6 separate regions of the Homo sapiens genome follow, and all the other regions are linked to region 1. The links are contacts of gene promoters, found by promoter capture Hi-C in blood cells and fetal thymus (Javierre and others, 2016). All regions are on one chromosome and are shown on one strand. Each heading gives the region's core, a stretch centred on a gene start or on the middle of the fragment in contact. The rest is flanking DNA. Distances are from core to core; before and after follow the strand shown. Region 1 holds the start of SIK2 (salt inducible kinase 2). Region 2 overlaps ALG9 (ALG9 alpha-1,2-mannosyltransferase). Region 3 overlaps ALG9 (ALG9 alpha-1,2-mannosyltransferase). Region 4 has its middle 6.1 kb from the start of PPP2R1B. Region 5 overlaps PPP2R1B (protein phosphatase 2 scaffold subunit Abeta). Region 6 has its middle 33 kb from the start of PPP2R1B.

The links. Contacts are between HindIII fragments. The CHiCAGO score rates a contact against its expected background, and 5 or more counts as called.
Region 2: a contact is called between a fragment that was not itself captured here and the fragment with the promoter of SIK2 in region 1, in 8 of 17 cell types (megakaryocytes, total CD4 T cells, erythroblasts and 5 more). The highest score is 9.1, in megakaryocytes.
Region 3: a contact is called between a fragment that was not itself captured here and the fragment with the promoter of SIK2 in region 1, in 6 of 17 cell types (naive B cells, erythroblasts, activated CD4 T cells and 3 more). The highest score is 7.2, in naive B cells.
Region 4: a contact is called between a fragment that was not itself captured here and the fragment with the promoter of SIK2 in region 1, in 16 of 17 cell types (erythroblasts, total CD8 T cells, endothelial precursors and 13 more). The highest score is 17.5, in erythroblasts.
Region 5: a contact is called between a fragment that was not itself captured here and the fragment with the promoter of SIK2 in region 1, in 6 of 17 cell types (naive CD4 T cells, naive CD8 T cells, erythroblasts and 3 more). The highest score is 6.7, in naive CD4 T cells.
Region 6: a fragment that was not itself captured here is called in contact with the fragment with the promoter of SIK2 in region 1 in 5 of 17 cell types (endothelial precursors, naive B cells, naive CD8 T cells and 2 more); the score reaches 7.0 in endothelial precursors.

The regions. Positions count from the first base shown.
Region 1 is chr11:111,600,931-111,603,921 of GRCh38, forward strand. It overlaps SIK2 (salt inducible kinase 2), which reads left to right and starts at 1,519. Exons shown (of 15, transcript NM_015191.3): 1 at 1,519-1,768. The coding sequence starts at 1,634. RefSeq lists an enhancer at 905-1,044 and silencers at 1,135-1,574, 2,125-2,284. The HindIII fragment of the contact is 10,147 bases long and covers 1-2,991 here.
Region 2 is chr11:111,829,512-111,832,502 of GRCh38, forward strand. The region is part of intron 13 of ALG9 (ALG9 alpha-1,2-mannosyltransferase); the gene reads right to left. Among named protein-coding and RNA genes, the nearest start is that of ALG9, 41 kb to the right of the region's middle. RefSeq lists an enhancer at 191-330. The HindIII fragment of the contact is 3,201 bases long and covers 1-2,991 here.
Region 3 is chr11:111,794,773-111,797,763 of GRCh38, forward strand. All of the region lies in intron 14 of ALG9 (ALG9 alpha-1,2-mannosyltransferase), which reads right to left. It overlaps LOC124902756 (a long non-coding RNA gene), which reads left to right. Exons shown (of 2, transcript XR_007062891.1): 1 at 1-1,302; 2 at 2,005-2,991. Among named protein-coding and RNA genes, the nearest start is that of PPP2R1B, 30 kb to the left of the region's middle. RefSeq lists a silencer at 2,437-2,516. The HindIII fragment of the contact is 346 bases long and covers 1,387-1,732 here.
Region 4 is chr11:111,771,028-111,774,018 of GRCh38, forward strand. It overlaps a transcript of ALG9 not described here. Among named protein-coding and RNA genes, the nearest start is that of PPP2R1B, 6.1 kb to the left of the region's middle. The HindIII fragment of the contact is 5,513 bases long and covers 1-2,991 here.
Region 5 is chr11:111,751,603-111,754,593 of GRCh38, forward strand. It overlaps PPP2R1B (protein phosphatase 2 scaffold subunit Abeta), which reads right to left. Exons shown (of 15, transcript NM_002716.5): 8 at 2,897-2,967; 9 at 1,841-1,975; 10 at 557-730. Among named protein-coding and RNA genes, the nearest start is that of PPP2R1B, 13 kb to the right of the region's middle. The HindIII fragment of the contact is 4,602 bases long and covers 1-2,991 here.
Region 6 is chr11:111,732,352-111,735,342 of GRCh38, forward strand. It overlaps a transcript of PPP2R1B not described here. Among named protein-coding and RNA genes, the nearest start is that of PPP2R1B, 33 kb to the right of the region's middle. RefSeq lists enhancers at 296-1,112, 2,693-2,991. The HindIII fragment of the contact is 8,776 bases long and covers 1-2,991 here.

The DNA.
Region 1 (2,991 bases), core at 269-2,768:
CTATATTTATTTATTTATTTATTTATTTACTGAGACAGAGTCTCGCTCTGTCGCCCAGGCTGGAGTGCAGTGGCACGATCTCGGCTCACTGCAACCTCTGCTTCCCTGGTTCAAGCAATTCTCCCTGCCTCAGCCTCCCGAGTAGCTGGGATTATAGGCGCCCACTACCACGCCCGGCTAATTTTTGCATTTTTAGTAGAGATGGGGTTTCACACAGGCTAGTCTTGAACTCCTGACCTCAGGTGATCCACCCGCCTCAGCCTCCCAAAGTGCTGGGATTACAGGCGTAAGCCACTAAGCCCGGCCCATTATTTATTCCTGATACTCAAACTGTCTCAGATTTGGTAAGGGGGGAGCACCTTCGAGCCATCTGCTTTCTTTTGACATATCTTCCTTGACATAGCCAAGAAATCTCCTTGCTTTAAGGAGCAGGATCTTTCAAGGGCATTTTATACTTTCCCTGTCTCTGCCCTCGAATGAGCCATCTCGCCACGGAGTCTGGCTCCTTTAGGTGGAGAATGGTATTTAGAAACCAAGATATAAAGGCATATGATACATCTCAAAATAGTGAGGTGTCACTGTCCCTGTTTCCTTGAGTCACATTTGGAAGCGTGGTGTGATTTATAATCCTACCTCGACTATTGCCTGTGTGACCTAGGCAATTCCCTTTATTCCTTGAGGTCTTCTTCGTCCTTTGGGGAAAAAAATTGGATTAGAGAAATATTTCTAAACTTTTTCAGAGTCACCAACGCGTTTGGGAATCTGACAGAAGCTACGGGTCCATCTCCCCAGAGACATGCTCACATAAGCAAAAACTGGCCTGTGTTTTAGGGGGTTCCAAACTCTGAAGCTCACATGAGGCTCCAAATCTCTGGATTAAGTGATCTCCAAGATCTCTTCAGCGCTGACATTGACATTCTGTGAGTCTATAAGCGACTGCACTGCTGTCAGAATGACTCCTCGGAGACATCAAAACGTGGAGGGTTTTATTATATATAGCAACGAGAAGAGAAAAGGACACAAAGAAAGGAGCCTGTGAGCAACGCATTGCTCAGCCACAGTTCTTTGCCGGTGCCAAATTTAGGACGCGCTGTACTTGTAGGTGAGAGGTTTTGGCGGGAAGGACCCCGGGTGGGCGGAGAACGCCGGGGCGGGGAAGGAGATCGCAGGCCGCATCCAGGTCTCTGCACCCCTCCGCACGGTCCGCCAGGGCTCGCTCTTGCCCTTCGCCTGGAAGGCCGAGGAACGGAGCGGGCCGAGCAGCGACCCCGCCCCTGGCAGCGGTGAGGCGGAGGGGCGAGGGGAGGGCGTCTGAGCCCGGAAGGAGCGCGCCGGCCAGGCTCGCGCCCCTCCCCGTGCGCCGTCCCCCACTCTCCAGCAGCCGACGTCGGCGGTGCTTCGGTCGCCATGGTGACCAATCCAGGCTCGGGCCCGCCCCCGCCCCCCTGCCCCGGCCCCCTGACGTCGGCGCACGTCAGCGGCGGCGCGCGCCTGGCTGGGCCCTGGGGAGCGGGAGGGAAGGAGCGAAGGAGCGAAGGAGCAAGCGGAGCGGCCGTCGCCCAAGCCAAGCCGCGCTGCCAACCCTCCCGCCCGCCCGCGCTCCTGTCCGCCGTGTCTAGCAGCGGGGCCCAGCATGGTCATGGCGGATGGCCCGAGGCACTTGCAGCGCGGGCCGGTCCGGGTGGGGTTCTACGACATCGAGGGCACGCTGGGCAAGGGCAACTTCGCTGTGGTGAAGCTGGGGCGGCACCGGATCACCAAGACGGAGGTGCGGCCCGGGGCTCGGCGGGAGCGTCCGAGGCGAGGGTTCGGGAGAGGAGCTGCTTACCGAGAGGGGCGGCCGCAGTGGTGGGACCGGGGAGACCCGAGAGGCCGCCTCACTGGCGGAGGCGAGCGGGCCTGGGACTGTGAGGACCCAGGAGGTGCAGGGGGTCGGTGAGCAGCGAAGGGATCGGGCCCGGGCACCCGGACCCGAGTGTCGTCCGACTGGAAACGCAACCAGCCGGGGCTTTGCTTTCCCCTACGCCACCCCCGGTGGCCACCCGGAATTTCGCCCAGAGCCCCCCACCCGGGCCGTGACCTGGTCTGTGGCCTCCGCTCCGGAGCCCAAGTTCCGCGTCTTCCCTGCTTTCGGCTGGGGGTGGGGTGGGAGGGGAAGTCTCGGTGTTCCCAGGCTGCGCCGTGAGAGACGTCGCCGGCCCGAGGAGGGGACCGCCTGCGCTTGGGCTCCGCGGATGGGGGATCGTGCGGCCCCCGTGACCCCGGCGCCCCTCCCCTGCCCGACGAGGAAGGGCCCCATGGCTGGGAATACCCCCACGGCCACTGTCCATCTCCTCTCCTTCCTTTTGGCCCAGGGTGTCTCTGATTTGGTGTCTGGCTAGCTTGATCTCTTGCCTGGGGCATTTCCATTTAATGCCCCAGACAATAGAACTGGTTAAAATGGTCATCTCTGCATTTGCACGGTGGGTGGATTGGTCTTCTACTTGTCTAGGGTTGTCACTGTACCAGGTGTGCATTCTGGCTGTAATACGCATTCTTTAAACCATATCAGATTCTGCCTCTACTCATAAAGCCCTCAACTGCTTCCTGACGGTGAATCCTGCACCCTCTTCATTGCACATTCTAATGCACCGCACATACTCTCTCACAAGTCTCTGTTCTTACCTAACCCGCCCCCCTTCCTTCCACTGCCTCAAGCTGCTCTCCTCAGGGTCTCTATTTTAAGACGTGCAAATTAAATACCTTAGAAGAACGGTAGAAACAAAACCATTCTTTAGAATAAAACCTAGTGGTTTTGACGTACTCTACTCTGCCTTATTGTAGTTCCTCCTGGAGTTTCATCCTTTTCCTGTTTGTTTGCCCTCCAGTTTTGGTCCTATTCTGCTTTTTCCCTTGTTAGTACGAATGTACTGGAGTTTGAGTGTAGAATAAAGTAGGACTTCTTTTCAGAATGACTTATGTAAGGCGAAGGGCACTTGCAAACGTGAGTGA
Region 2 (2,991 bases), core at 276-2,775, 230 kb after region 1:
TATCCATCATCAATATCACATTGTTTACATCTTATAAACAAGCATATGTTAAGGATAACAATTTAATACCACTCCAGATGTAAACAAAACTACACATTCTCAAAGGAAATAGAAGGCCTGAAACAGAGGTTGAGATCCCAATAATAAAAGATGTGTATTTTGTCGGGGGAAGAGTGAGCTAAGGAGAGCTGGGTAGTAATAAATATTGTCACAGCTTTTCCTCATCAGCTGTAACAGAAACTTTGTCAGGGTTGCAGTCTTCAGTGACATCATCTCAACTCTCAAACACCAGCATCACACTCTTGGAGCGGGACACAGCACAGAGTAAGCCTCTAACAGTACTCATCTCTTCCAGGACAGAAGCAGCATGTAGACTTCCATCTCTGGTCATGAGGGCCCCGGCTCAGGACACATGTCTCAAGATAAACTGTGCTGCCATAAAATATTTGACAGGAAAATAGGTAATGGGATAAGCTAAAATATAAACACTCCAGTTGGATTTCAGGTGTAGTTTCAGCAAATTGGAAAGGGAAGCAAAGAAATGTCAATGGTCTTAGAAATTCCCAGTCATTTAAAAGGAAAATACATTTCACTTGATTCCAGAAAAGAATCAGACTCTCCTAACTTCCAGTCAATGCTCTTGCCACTATCAAATAGCCAATCATCAATATCCTCCCATGATATTTCCTTTATTGAAATAAGAACATGGAGGCCTGGGAGGAAACATCTGAAAGGGAAAAATTTCAAGTATTTTTCTGTCTTTTCATTTCCTCTTTTAGATATGCTCCAGTTAAATTTTAAAAAGTAGTTGTCCTCCAGAGCCACAGACTGTCTTAGTTTTTTGTCTCTCATATAGCCTTGCTAAATACATATTTGTTGATTGAATCTTTAAACTCACAAGAAAAAATTCATTGCACTGTAAAAATCTAAACTCACAGGTAAAAATTTTTGTTCATTCAATCATTATAGATCATGGAAACATCAATTAATTTCTAAATGCCAACATAATGAATACTAAAAAAATTAACTTTAGAGAAGTATTTTGAACATTCTCCAATTAAATTCTTAGTAGACTCTAATCTAATTGCACTGTATATATTACAGCAATTTGAATCTGCTTGCCTTGATACCCGAGACTGATAACAATTAGTGAGGAAACAAATAGGGCAAGTTATTTTTTCCTCCAATAAGGACTTCCAAAAAGGGCAGGAGAAGGGATAAAATGAGAGAGAAAGGAAGAAAAAGAGAAGAAAGGAAAGCATGTCGGGGGAAATCCTGATCATTTTTATTTATTGTTAAACATAATATTTACTACTTAAAGTAAGTACCTGTCATATATAAACTAGAAATGGAAAGTAATTTTTTAAAAAAGTAATGAGTTGGGCACAGTGGCTCACACCTGTAATCCCGCCACTTTGGGAGGTCAAGGCAGAAGGATCACTTGAAGCCTGGAGTTCGAGACCAGCCTGGGCAAGACAGTGAGGCCCTCTCTCCACAAAAAATTTAAAAATTAGCTAGGGGTAGTGGCTAATTTAAATTTTTTTTTTTAAACAGAGTCTCGCTCCGTCACCGAGGCTGGAGTGCAGTGGCGCCATCTCGGCTGACTGCAACCTCCGCCTCCTGGGTTCAAGTGATTCTCCTGCCTCAGCCTCCTAAGTAGCTGGTATTACAGGTGCACATCATCATGCCTGGCTAATTTTTGTATTTTTAGTAGAGACGGGGTTTCACCATGTTGGCCAAGCTGATCTTGAACTCCTGACCTCAGGTGATCCTCCCACCTCGGCCTCCCAAAGTGCTGAGATTGCAGGTGTGAGCCACCATGCCAGCCTAATTCTCCATAGAGACAGGGTCTTTACAGCACCTGTAGTCTCAGCTACTCAGGAGGCTGAGGTGGGAAGATCGATTGAGCCCAGGAGTTCGAGGCTATAGTGAGCTATGATGATGACACTGCACTCCAGCCTGGGTGACAGAGTGAGACCCTGCCTCTGAAAAACAAAACAAAACAAACAAACAGAAAGCAATGCTCAGCTACTTAATGTCTATTTGGCCTTGTAACATCAAAGAATGATTAGCTATCACACAAAAACAAGAAAGAGGTGGTATGAAAATAATATTGAAGAATCCTGAAACCAAGCCTTTTATCCTAGGGCTAATCTTTATCAAGTTATAATCTCTCTAGATCTCAGTTCTTTCATCCATAAAATAAAAAGATCACAGACTACATTTTAAGTTCCCTTCTAAATCTATGATTCTTTTTACTGGTTAAACTGGAAAAGCAGGGATAAAGAAGAATGAAATAAAGAATATTTTGAACTGATATACAGTCAATTCTGTTCTAATACTAGTTTCAAAAATGCAAATTTTTTCCAACAAAGGGATATATTAGGGAACACTTTGAGCGTAATTTAATTTTTGCATTTGATTATGTCATTTAATTCACAGGAAACACTAGGTGAATGCAGAAAAGTACACTCAGTGGAACCAATCAGCATAGGAATACACATAGTGTATACATACACAAATATATCTACTGGCCTTCTCAGTTCACTGTGTTATAAGCCACATCCACCCATTCACCTTTGCTATTATAACTTTTGTAAGATTTCAGATAATCCTTTTACTACTACAAGCTGCAATCCTTCCAATACCAGGCCACAAGCAAACTTCAAGTCTTCTGCAAAGTAAACAGCCACATTTATTGTAGTATTTATGCACTTTTAACCATTTAACATATGTAAAATCATGCTACCATTTTTAATCTTTTTTTAATTTTTATTTTTTCAGAGAGAGGGTCCTGCTATGTTGTCCAGGCTGGAGTGTAGTGGCATGACTGTAGCTCACTGTAGCCTCAAACTCCTGGGCTCAAGCAGTCCTCTCACCTCAGCCTTTGAGTAGTTAGGACTACAGGCATGAGCCACCATACCTGGCTAATTTATTTTTTTTTTATTGTAGAGACTGAATCTCGCTATGTTGTCTCAAACTCCTAGCCTC
Region 3 (2,991 bases), core at 310-2,809, 190 kb after region 1:
TAGTTTCTTTCTCTCTTGCATTGTAGCTCACCTTTCAGTGAGAGATTTTCTACAACCTTTAGTGCAGAACTTGGCTTTTGCAGCTATCTTCAGTTCTGAAGAGAATCTCAGAATTCCTTCAAGACTTAGTGATAGTCAACCTATAGTTCCATATCAAGCAATTTAAGCACATCTCAAAAAGCTGGTATGGAGCAAAAATGTGACTGTTATTTAATAGTTTTTAACAGGAAATGCGGTGAGAGACATTATTCTAATGGTAACTAATGCAAAGGTGACTTACAACCCTGTTATCCAAAAGAGGAGTTCCATGCTGTATGTTATACTCCACCAGTCCCTTGAGGATGGAATTTTATCTAACTGCTCTATCTCTAGTTTTTAGGAAAGTGCCACAGAAAGTCCTCAATAAATAGTCTGTGAATGAATGAGCGCCTATGCTCTGACTCTTAAACCAGAGCATCTGGTTTACCTCCCACCCTTCTTACAATATTCATCTTCCACAAGGAAAAGGAAATATCAAAAATAATCTAAAGTTTTTTTTCTGTTCTCTTCCTAAGCAATTCAATCCTAAAGCCATTACGTGGGGCAGAGCAAAGCAGAAGTCTAGAGTGGGGAGCTGGGGGGCTGTGGTGGCCCATGGGATGTCAGAGTGCAAGGGGGCATGGAAGGCGTGTTGCTAAAGAAAATATACTGCAAAAGGTCCCATAATTGTATAATGGCAATATACCCCGCAGGTGGCCGTTTACACAGAATTTGCTGAATCAGCATTATCCATGTGACCAGTATGATATTTTACTTTCAGCAGGCATGTTCAATAGACCCTTGATGTTCAATAAATATTCATGATTTTGACTATATGGAGCAACCTCCAAAAATACATTATGTGTAATGACTAGGAAGTTTACTGAGGCACAAACTGGAATCGTGGCATCGTGAGACTGGTATACAGAGTGGATCATTCCACTGATTTGTGGCCTTGGCCAACATCTGGCATAACATCATAACCTTTTGATCAGTCATCTTTAGCAAATATTCAGAGTGAGGAACTGGGGAAAAATGCTATTAGGCAACTGGCCATTTTCTGACCTCAGTCCCATCAAGGTTGCTGGAGAAATGCTCTTCACCAGTCTTTTTTCCCATCTCACAGCTACTTAGATATAAAGGTACTCTATGTCCCATTCATCAGTCCTGTGGAGAGGATGCCAATGTTCGAGAGAGTTTTCGTCCCTGCTCTTCGGACCCTCATTTGGGCTTCTTTTATGTGACAAATAGAAGGATTAGGGGTCACATCAGCAAATGATTCTGGTAAGCTTTACAGAGATGAAATAAACAATGAGTATGTCTTAAAATAATTCAATAATCTTTATTTTACCAAATAAGGGCATCAGAAGCTTCTGAAGAAAACCTTATACCATCTTTTTTCTATTTAGTATAAATCCAGTTTTAAGAATGTGAAATACACAATCAATACATATTTTCTAAGACTCTATAATGTGCTAGGAGTTGTAGAGAATCAACATGTAATGTGGTTCTAACTCTCAAGGAACTTGGAACAAAGACCTCTGATGATGCTGCCTGCTTAGGCTAAGCCAGCTAAAAGCAGTGGTGGTCCTAAAACATGTTACATGCTCTTCAAACCTGAGAGCTTCTATGGCATGGACTTAGAGAACAGATGGTCTGTAAATGGTTTCTTTCTAGAGAACTCATTTCACAACAATGGAAAGCAGACTCTCTAAGCTTCAGAAAAATGAAAAAAGGTTTATTCTTCTTAAAATGTCAGCAGATCTTAATGATTAAGCAGCTGAATAATGGCAAAACACCATGTGTTTTGAAGCCAAATCTGGCCTGGGGTAGCTCTGCCAGACGAAGGGTCTCAAGAAAGTATTCTGGGAGAATATGAGGAGGAAAAGCCAAAAACTGATAGACAGTGAAACAGAAAGTATAAGAGAATAAAAGTTGATAAATACCAAAGTATAGAAACTCTGATCTCTTCTTCCTGTTTCTCAGTATTCTTGGCATCGCTGAGGAAGCTAAGGGCACCACCATGATTGACATACAGGGAAAAAACAAAAAACTCCAATTACTGCTTAGGAGGGAGAACTAATTCTACCCAAAGGAGGGAAGCACCATCTGAAGCATGTCAAACTTGGCCTGCAACCAAATTCTGCCATCGGGTGGAGTCTCTCCTTCCATCTGGGTAATAAGAAGTTGCAGATGGAAAAAGCCTGCTGGACTACTGCATGTACTATATGCCTCTTCTGTAAGAAATCACCTTTAAAAAGAAAAGTTTCAAAGTTTATCCAATTTGGATGGAGAACGGCATTGCAAGATAAGTAGTGGCTTTAAAGCATGTCCATACTTCTTTGACACTCCTCCCATCAACAGGGGAAGTCTACTTCTTTTCCCCTTGAGCATGAGCTATTCAACTGGCTTGCTGCCAACAAACAGAATGAGGAGGAAGTGATACTGTGTGACTTCCAAGGCTAGGTCATAAAAAATTATGCAGGTCTTGAGATGCTTACTCTTGGAAGTCAGCCACCATGCTATAAGGAAGCCCAAGCCACATAAAGAAGACACATAGGTGTTCTGGCTGACAGCCCCAGCTGAGATCTAGCCAAGAGCCAGCATCCAGACATATGAGTGAGAAAGCCACTCAGCTGCCTCCAGCCCCAGCCACTATCTGATGGCTAATGCATTACAGATCCTGAGTAAGAACTGGCCAGTTGAGCCCATCAACTCCCAGAACCACGAGAAGAAACAATAATCAACTATTGTTGTTTTACGCCACTAAGTATGGATGACTGTTACACAGCAATAGCTGGAACAAATGCTTCTGGCTAATTTGCCCTTTACAGTAATCACTCCAGTCGTCTTATCTTCCATAGAGAAATAGTTCTGCTTATGCTGGAGCTAAGGGCTGGCTCCCTTCAACCAGATTACTCTCTACAACATAGGACAAAAATGAATATAAGTGCAATGGACTCTGTAGGCCTC
Region 4 (2,991 bases), core at 197-2,696, 170 kb after region 1:
GCCCGGTTCCTATAAGACAAAGCATCAAGAATATAGGAAGTACAGGCAGATGGGATCGACGGCCATCAACTCTTGCTCACATTAACAGCTCTCAAAGTCACATCAGAAAACCATCAGTCATTGGCCGGGCGTGGTGGCTCATGCCTGTAATCCCAGCACTGTGGGAGGCCGAGGAGGGTGGATCACCTGAGGTCAGGAGTTTGAGGCCAGCCTGGCCAACATAGTGAAACCCTGTCTCTACTAAAAATGCAAAAATTAGCCAGGTGTGGTGGTGCATGCCTGTAATCCCAGATACTCAGGAGGCTGAGGCAGGAGAATCGCTTGAACCCAGGAGGCAGATGTTGTGGTGAGCCGAGATAGCGCCACTGGGAAAAAGAAAAGCATCAGTCATGAGGATCGAAGTGACATCACTGTCATCTTCTCTGGCCCCTTGCCTCAAGTTTACTAAACTTGCGTCTCCCTTACAGCCAAAGAGCTTTACAAATAGGTTCTCATTCAAATGCTGATCTGCTCCACAGTCACCCCACTGTGTGAGAAGGCCAAGTGTAGGAGACCTGTAAGTGTCTCAGGGCAGATTCAGACTGTTGTCCCCCTGAAAGGGACATCAAGGGAGTGGTGGATGACAGGGGCGGGAAACCTGAGGCACACGGAAGCATTTTCCAACTGTCTTCATTTGGCAAGATGACCCTGGTAAACTGATTCCGAGGGCTGTACTTAATTCATCGCAAAGTAGTGATTATCACCATAGCATTAATGATATTTTAAATTTGTATTTATGCAAAGTATGTCACCATTCTGTGGAACTCAAATATTTTCCCTTCAATTTCAGCTCAATATTTTAGCCTTCTTTTTCTTCTGTGTTTTCTTCATGGCAAATTTTTAATCTCATTTTTATGGGTGGGAATACCCCAACAAAGAGAAAGGGACTTTACCTGATGTCCCAATAAATCAGAAGCAGGTGCAGAACTCATAATCAGGGATTATTGCTACTCCCTCCTCCATCTCCTACCTCTGTTCTACAGCTCATCACCACATATAACAAAGGTATTGGATTTCCAAGGCAAACTTTGCTTGAATTCTTGGGAAGAGCAAATCAAAGAAATAGGACAGCCGGGCAAGGTGGTGAGGTGGCTCATGCCTGTAATCCCAGCACTTTGGGAAGTCCAGGTGGGCAGATCTCTGGAGCTCAGGAGTTTGAGACCAGCCTAGGCAACATGGTAAAACCTCATCTCTACAAAAAATACAAAAATTAGCCGGGCACAGAGGTGCCTGACTGTAGTACCAGTTATTTGGGAGGGTGAGGTGGGAGAATCGCTTGAGCCTGGGAGGCAGAGGCTGCAGTTAGCCATGATTGCACCACTGCACTCCAGCCTGGGCAATATAGCAAGAAAAAAGAAAAAGAAAGAGGACACTCAGTTACCTTTCACAATAGTACATACAATGGTTAGGAGAGTATACTCTGGAGTCAGGAAGATGTAGATTGAAATCCCACCTCTACCAATTACTAGCTGTGTGACTTTGGGCAAATAACCTATCCTCTCTGAATCTTGGTTTCTACATTTATACGGTGGGGCTGTTGAGCTTACCTCATGTGGTTGTTAAAAAGATTAAATAATTCATATAAAGTGCATAGGTAGTGCCTGGCAAGAGAAAGCACTCAAATACTATCCATTAACAGTTTTTATCTACTGAGGAAGTGGGAGCAAATAGGAAAATATTGCAATCAATTGAACTTTGGCAACAGAAAGGACCCACATGAAAGAATGAAAGAGGTACATGACTTACAGAGTCAGAATACCTGTTCCAGAAGATTTTTTTCATCGGTAAAATAGAGCTTTTACCTCTCAGACTTGTGAGGAGTGAGAGTCATGATGAAAGGTGCTTTGTTAGTGGAAAGCACCATGCAGATGTTAGAAGTTGTGTTATTTAGGCCGGGTGCGGTGGCTCACGCCTGTAATCTCAGCACTCTGGGAGGCCGAGGCAGGCGGATCACGAGGTCAGGAGATCGAGACCATCCTGGCTAACATAGTGAAACTCCCTCTCTACTTAAAAAAAAAAAAATACAGAAGTTGTATTATTTATTACAAAGGGCTCACTGAATCTGATGCCCATGCCAAACACAAGAGAGTACATCTGGAGACTATGTTCAAGGTGTACAGGCCCCAGTTCTCTAAGAACAGCAGTCAGGATTAGTATCTCCTTTAGCCACAATGGTAGATTTTTTTTTTGTTTCCTGAGACTGAGTCTTGCTTTGTTGCCCAGGCTGTAGTACAATGGGGCAATCTCAGCTCACTGCAACTTCCACCTCCCGGGTCCAAGTGATTCTTCTGCCTCAGCCTCCCAAGTAGCTGGGACTACAGGCATGTGCCACCATGCCTGGCTAATTTTTGTATTTTTAGTAGAGACGGGGTTTCACCATGTTCGCCAGGCTGCTCTCAAACTCCTGAACTCAGGTGATTCGCCTGCCTTCGCCTCCCAAAGTGCTGGGATTATGGGCGTCACAAGGGTAGATTTAAGCTACGGAAAACCTGAAGATAAACAGGCACAGTGACCTTTCTCAAAAGCCTTAGGCCTTTGAGTCCTATTAAAGGGCTCCAGTGTTCTCAGGCCAGAACCCCCATTATCTTGCCAGGGGCCTATATACCACTCGGAAAAAAATGTTTTGTTATGGTGTTAAGTGAAAAAGCATAGCTCCTAAATGGCTAATACGAAAATCATCTTTTGTTTTTGCTTTTTTTTTTTTTTGAGACAGGGTCTCATTCTGTTACCCAGTCTGGAGTGCAGTAGCATGATCACGGCTCGCTGCAGCCTCGATCTCCTGGGCTCAGGTGATCCTCCCACCTTAGCCTCCCAAGTAGTTGGGATGACAAGTGTATGTCACCATGCCTGGCTAATTTTTGTATTTTTTTTGTAGAGACAGGGTTTGGCCACATTGCCCAGGCTGGTCTTAAACTCCTGGGCTTGTCAAGCAATCAGCCCATCTCGGCCTCC
Region 5 (2,991 bases), core at 268-2,767, 150 kb after region 1:
ATCCACTTCTGGTCCCAAACATGCTGGTCCCAAGCGTATTTAGATGAGGGATACTCAACCTATACCTTTTTGTTAGAAATGTATGCACTAATAGGCCAGATGCAGTGGCTCACGCCTGGAATCCCAGCACTTTGGGAGGCTGAGGCGGGTGAATCACCTGAGGTCAGGAATTCAAGACCAGCCTGACCAACATGGTAAAACCCCATCTCTATTAAAAATACAAAATTAGCTGGGTGTGGTGGCATATTCCTGTAATCCCAGCTACTTGGGAGGCTGAGACAGGAGAATCGCTTAAACCCAGGAGGTGGAGGTTGCAGTGAGCCAAGATTGCATCATTGCACTCCAGCCTGGGCAACAACAGTGAAACTCCATCTTAAAAGAAAAGAAACGTATGCACTAACAAACATAAAAACCATCCTATAGGTAACAAGAACAAGGCCATACTTTCATGCATCTAAACAAACATAAGCATACAGGCTACTAGGCCTCCTACTTGCCATGGTAAATTGTCACTATCTGACACTACCCTGCAGTTCATGGAGCAACACATACTCACCAGCTGGCCTGCCAGCAGCGGCATATACTCAATGATGGCCAGGCGGACCCTCCATTTGGCATCTTCTGCCAGCTCCACTATGGCAGGAAGGAGAGACTGAGAGAGCTGACGGATTCCAATCACTTCATTTACACAATCCAAATTGGAGATGATATTCAAACGAACGTCAGGACACTGCAAGTACACAAGCCCCAAAAGACCACATTTAAAAATCAAGTACTCTGCCCAACAGTCTCCTGTCAGGGTAAGATAAAAGGTGAGGTAAGACTCAGGTGAAAAAAAAATGGATAATCTTGAAGAAATAATAGTGAATACATAAATAACTCAAGGAACATAAATGATCTTAATCAGAAATTTCAATTAAAAGTCCGTAATACTAAAGACTACAAGAAAAGTCCGTAAGATGGTAAAGAGCATAATCTCTGGAACTAAATCAGATGCACTCAAATTTCAGATCTGTCATTGTTGAAAGACCTTGCTCAAGTTACTTTAACCCTCTATGCCTCAGCTTTCTCATCTGTAAAATGGGATAATTGGCCGGGTGCGGTGGCTCACACCTGTAATCCCAGCACTTTGGGAGGCCGAGACGGGCAGATCACGAGGTCAGGAGATCGAGACCACAGTGAAACCCCGTCTCTACTAAAAATACAAAAAATTAGCTGGGTGCTGTGGCAGGCGCCTGTAGTCCCAGCTACTCAGGAGGCTGAGGCAAGAGAATGGCATCAACTCAGGAGGCGGAGCTTGCAGTGAGCAGAGATTGCGCCACTGCACTCCAGCCTGGGCGACAGAGCAAGACTCCGTCTCAAAAAACAAAACAAACAAACAAACAAACAAAAAGGGATAATAATAAGACCTACCTCACAGGATTGTTGTGAGAATTGCATGTAAAAATACATGCAAAGCACTAAGGCTCATGCTTGCCATGTAGTAATTACTCAGTAAATATTAGGTATCATTATAATTTTTGATACTATATTTAAACTTAAATAAATGAAACTTTTTAAACAAAGACACATTAGCTTTAAAGAAACCAGGGAGTATAAAGCAAAAATCAGGTAAAGATGATAAACAGATATTTCTAGGTTTACTCTAATGGGTACTTTTGCCCACTTTCTGAGGAACCTATAACCCCATACCCAAAATCACAGGTGTCATTGGTTTAAAATAAGTTATGATTTTTTTATCCATTTTCTTTTTGGGGGTTCTATTTTAATGAAACCCTAAACCAAAATCAAATAAAATCAAATTACTATCAAAGGCAACAGAACATAAAGCAAGACCCACCTCATCCTTTAACTGAGCTAAGAAAAGAGGTAGAAGATGTTCAATGGTATTTTCTTTGCCCAAAATAGTAGACAATCCCATAATTACAGAAGCTAGAGCCGATTTGACATGTTGATTGGTATCGGATACTAATTCCTAAAATAAAATCGAAATTAAAAGCCTTTATTACAAGACAACAGAAACTTCCATACCATTATTCTGGGAAACAGAGTCTTGCTCTGTTGCCCAGGCTGGAGTGCAGTGGCATGACCTTGGCTCACTGCAGCCTCACCCTCCCAGGCTCAAGCACTTCAGCCTCCAGAGTAGCTGGGTCTACAGACATGCACCACCAGGCCTGGCTAATTTTTTTCATTTTTTGCAGAGACAGGTTCTTACTACATTGCCAGGGCTGGTCTTGAACTCCTGGGTTCATGCAATCCTCTTACCTTGGCCTCTCAAAGCGCTGGGATTACAGGTGTGAGCCACCACGCCTGGCCTAATTTTTTTTTTTTTGAGACAGTGTCTCACCCTGTCACCTAGGCTGGAGTACAGTGGCATGATCATAGCTCACTGCCATCTCAACCTCCTGGGCTCAAGCAATCCTCCCACCTCAGACTCCCAAGTAGCTGGTACTACAGGTGCATGCCACCAGGCTCAACTAATTTTTGTATTTTTTGTAGCAATGGGGTCTCACTATGTTGCCCAGGCTGGTCTCAAACTCCTGGGCTCAAGAAATCCTCCCACCTCAGCGTCCCAAAGTGCTTGGATTACAGGCATGTACCACCATGCCTGACCCCAAGGAATTTAAAGACAGCACTATTTCAATACTGATTAGTTGATAATGTTTCCTCAGACTACTTGTTAGGTAACATAAACCTATGCACCAAAGAGCAGTTTACAATTACAATGGGCTAATAAGTGATGAATAACAATGTTGCACATTAACACATCTTCCCCATTCATTCCCTGTCAACCTTTAAACTCAAAGAGCTTTAAGGTAAACAAACAAACAAAAATAATGAGATTAAGGTTTACCTTCATATAAAAGAGAGTGAAACAAAATAAAGTCAGGTTTACCTTTATATAAGGCAGAATTTGATTCATAATTATGGTCTCTCTATCTTCAATGGGCAAGTTCTCACCAAGTTCTAAAAGATAAATAGAAAAAAAGA
Region 6 (2,991 bases), core at 275-2,774, 130 kb after region 1:
CACCAGGGACCAAAGTTAGGAACCCCTGACTCAGCCTCTGCTCTCTCAAAAGTTCTTGGCCAGGTGCTGTGGCTGACACCTGTAATCCCAACACCTTGGGAGGCAGAGGCAGGTGGATCATCTGAGGTCAGGAGTTCAAGACCAGCCTGGCCAACATGGTGAAACCCCATCTCCACTAAAAATACAAAAATTAGCCAGGTGTGGTGGCGGGCGCCTGTAATCCTAGCTACTCTGGAGACTGAGGCAGGAGAATCACTTGAACCTGGTAGGCAGAGGTTGCAGTGAGCTGAGATCGCACCACTGCACTCCAGCCTGAGCGACACAGCAAGACTTCATCTCAAAAAACAAATAAACAAACAAACAAAGCTCAGAGGGACCCTCCCTGCTGATGGGTTCTCATCCCTCCCTGGGTGGATCCAGGTGACAGGGAGCCTCCTGCTTGCCAGCAGCCCGTGGGCACCATGGGAGGAAGTTCTGGGCTTTGTGCACTAAATCCTGGGTGCTATGTGGCTACAAAGGAAATGTCACCTGCACAGAACATGGCTGCTCTGCCCTTCTCATTTCAGCCCCACCAGTGACTTCAAAAGCTGAGCAGCCCTTGAGCGATGGATTATCGCACAGGAATCATCCTGGACAACGTCCCTTAGGAGGCAGATGTGGGTCCTGACTGAGGCGAAGGGGCTGGGCCCTCCCTCAGACACAGGGGCCACTGGCACACCTGCCTCCCCCCAGGTATGAAGCTGTGCCCACAAATCACTCAGGCCAAACCCAAGGTCAGGCAGGGCAGAGAGCTTGCCAGGCGCCTCGGCCACTGTTCTTTCCAGCAAGCCTTCCTGCTGCTGCCTCCCTTTGTCCGTGTTTCTGGGGGGATTTCCTAGGGCAGACTGACTCAGAGCTGCTCTGAAATTGGCAAAGAGAGATTCCAAGCCCAGGGAAAGCATGAGCTGGGCTGAGCCCCCGAGCCAGCACAGTGTCTGGGAGGGTGGAGACAGGAGGGAGCCACAGCATGGGAAGCGGACTTCCCCTGGAGCCGAGCCCCCAAAAGCTGGATAAGCAGAAAAGCTCAGAAAATGTGGGCCCAGAGGAAAATGAGGCATTAGGGATTGAGCTTCTCAAAGGGAGAACTGAGTCACTCTCTCCTCAGGTCGGCTGGGACAGTTCTGGCTCCAGCTCCTCACTCCCCAAAAGTGAAATGCCCCGAGTGGGGCTGACTGACAAATCAGACCCTGAGGAGACTGTTCATTGTCACCCCAGGGCCACCCACATAGTTGGGGGTGGGACACAATGGAATGGAGGAAAAGCCCACCAAGCCCTTTCCTCCAAGCACGCCACACATAGCTCCCGGAGCGCACAGCCTTGCCTGTCTCTTCTGTCTGGGATCCGCCAGAACTGCCTTCCAGTCGCTACAGAGCCCAAATGCTTAGCAGTGCCCCTGTGCCAGCAAAGTGAGGGCTGAAGGGCAGGCAGGCAGTGGAAGGGAACCAGGGATGAGAGGGCCAGGCAAGGAGGGCTAGGCACAGAGCAAGCCTGGGAGAGCAAGGCCCGGCTCCCACCCAGCCCGGGAGCCACCACCTGGCCACCCTCCAGGCAGGGACATTCTGGGAGGCAGCAAAGAACCTCTGACAGAGGCCTCGGCCCCTGGCGCCCTCTCAGCCCTGCCACTAACCCAGGCAAATCATTGTAAAGGCTGGTGTCTCCAGTGGTAACTTGGAGCACAGGCTGGCTGGTTTCACCCCAGGGTTTACTGCGAGGGGCAAATGCAGCCTGGCCTGGCACTCCTGGAAGACCCCCACTCCCCTGGAGGGCTGTCACAGAGTCCCACTCTGCCTATCTTACTTTAACTCTTGCCTGCCCCAACACTAGGTACAGAAAATGGCTGCTTCTTGCCTGTGAGCTCTGTCTTCACTGACTTAAGGGTGGTTGTGCTGTTCTGAGCATCTGCTTCAGGCTAAGAACTGGGAACTCTGCCCCAGGATTTCTGAATTTTCGGAAATGAGTTCTAGGCATCAGACATGGGTACCACAAACATAAGAACATCCCTGAGAATCTATGTCACAGGTAGGAGGACTTTTTTATCTCCAACTGTTAGGTCAAGCTCCAGTGTGGAAAAGACTTGGAAGGCCTGGGGGAGTCTTTTTGTGCGGACAGCTCGGCCCCTAGGCCCCACAGTGGAGAGGGCACTGACAGGAGGTCAGCCTAAGGACCTGCTCCCGTGTGCCCTGTCACCAGCCTACGTCTGACTTCCCCATGGACTTCAAGGTCCAATTGCCTTAGCTGGAAGCCACTGGGGATGGGACTGAACATCCCTGGGCTTTGGTCTTTGTCATCAGTCCTCAGTTTGACTGGACTCACATCTCCTGTAGTCTTTCTGGGTTCAAGAGAACAAAATCCGCTGGCCAAGAGGTTGGCCCTTAAGGAGCTCCTCCCCTTCACACACTCCCAGCAGAGCTCCTCAGAGCTGCCCTTGAGACCCCCCAGGGCAGCGCGAAGGCCCTGCCAGCCTAACTCTGTGGGAGGAACAGGACATGCAGCTAGATGCTAGAGGCTGGCTCTAGGACAAGTGAGGTTCCTGAGCTGCAGAATGGCTCCAGCCTCAGGCCCAGAACAGCCTGGTTCACCAGCAGGTGCTGATTAAATCCAGAGAAGAGACCCGCATCGAAAGGCACAAGTCAGAGACCCTCAGGGCCCAAGGGACTCTCTGAGTTTGGGGAAAATAAGGCAGGCAGGAAAAAACCAGAAACAAGAGTAGAAGGGGCATGGAAGGCAGAAGATGGTCTTAGCTGGGACGTGGCGCAGGGGCTGGTCTCGGGTCAGTGTGTGTACAGGACAGACTGTGTGCAGAGAAAAGGAAGAGGAGGAGGGTGGGCGCAGTCAGGCAGTGTCTGTAGCCATTATTTATGGATGCTTCACTTGATTTTAGTCTCCAAACCTGGGCTCGGCATGGAGACTGAATGTCCCTCACAGCTGCTCCTTCCTGCAATAACAAGACTG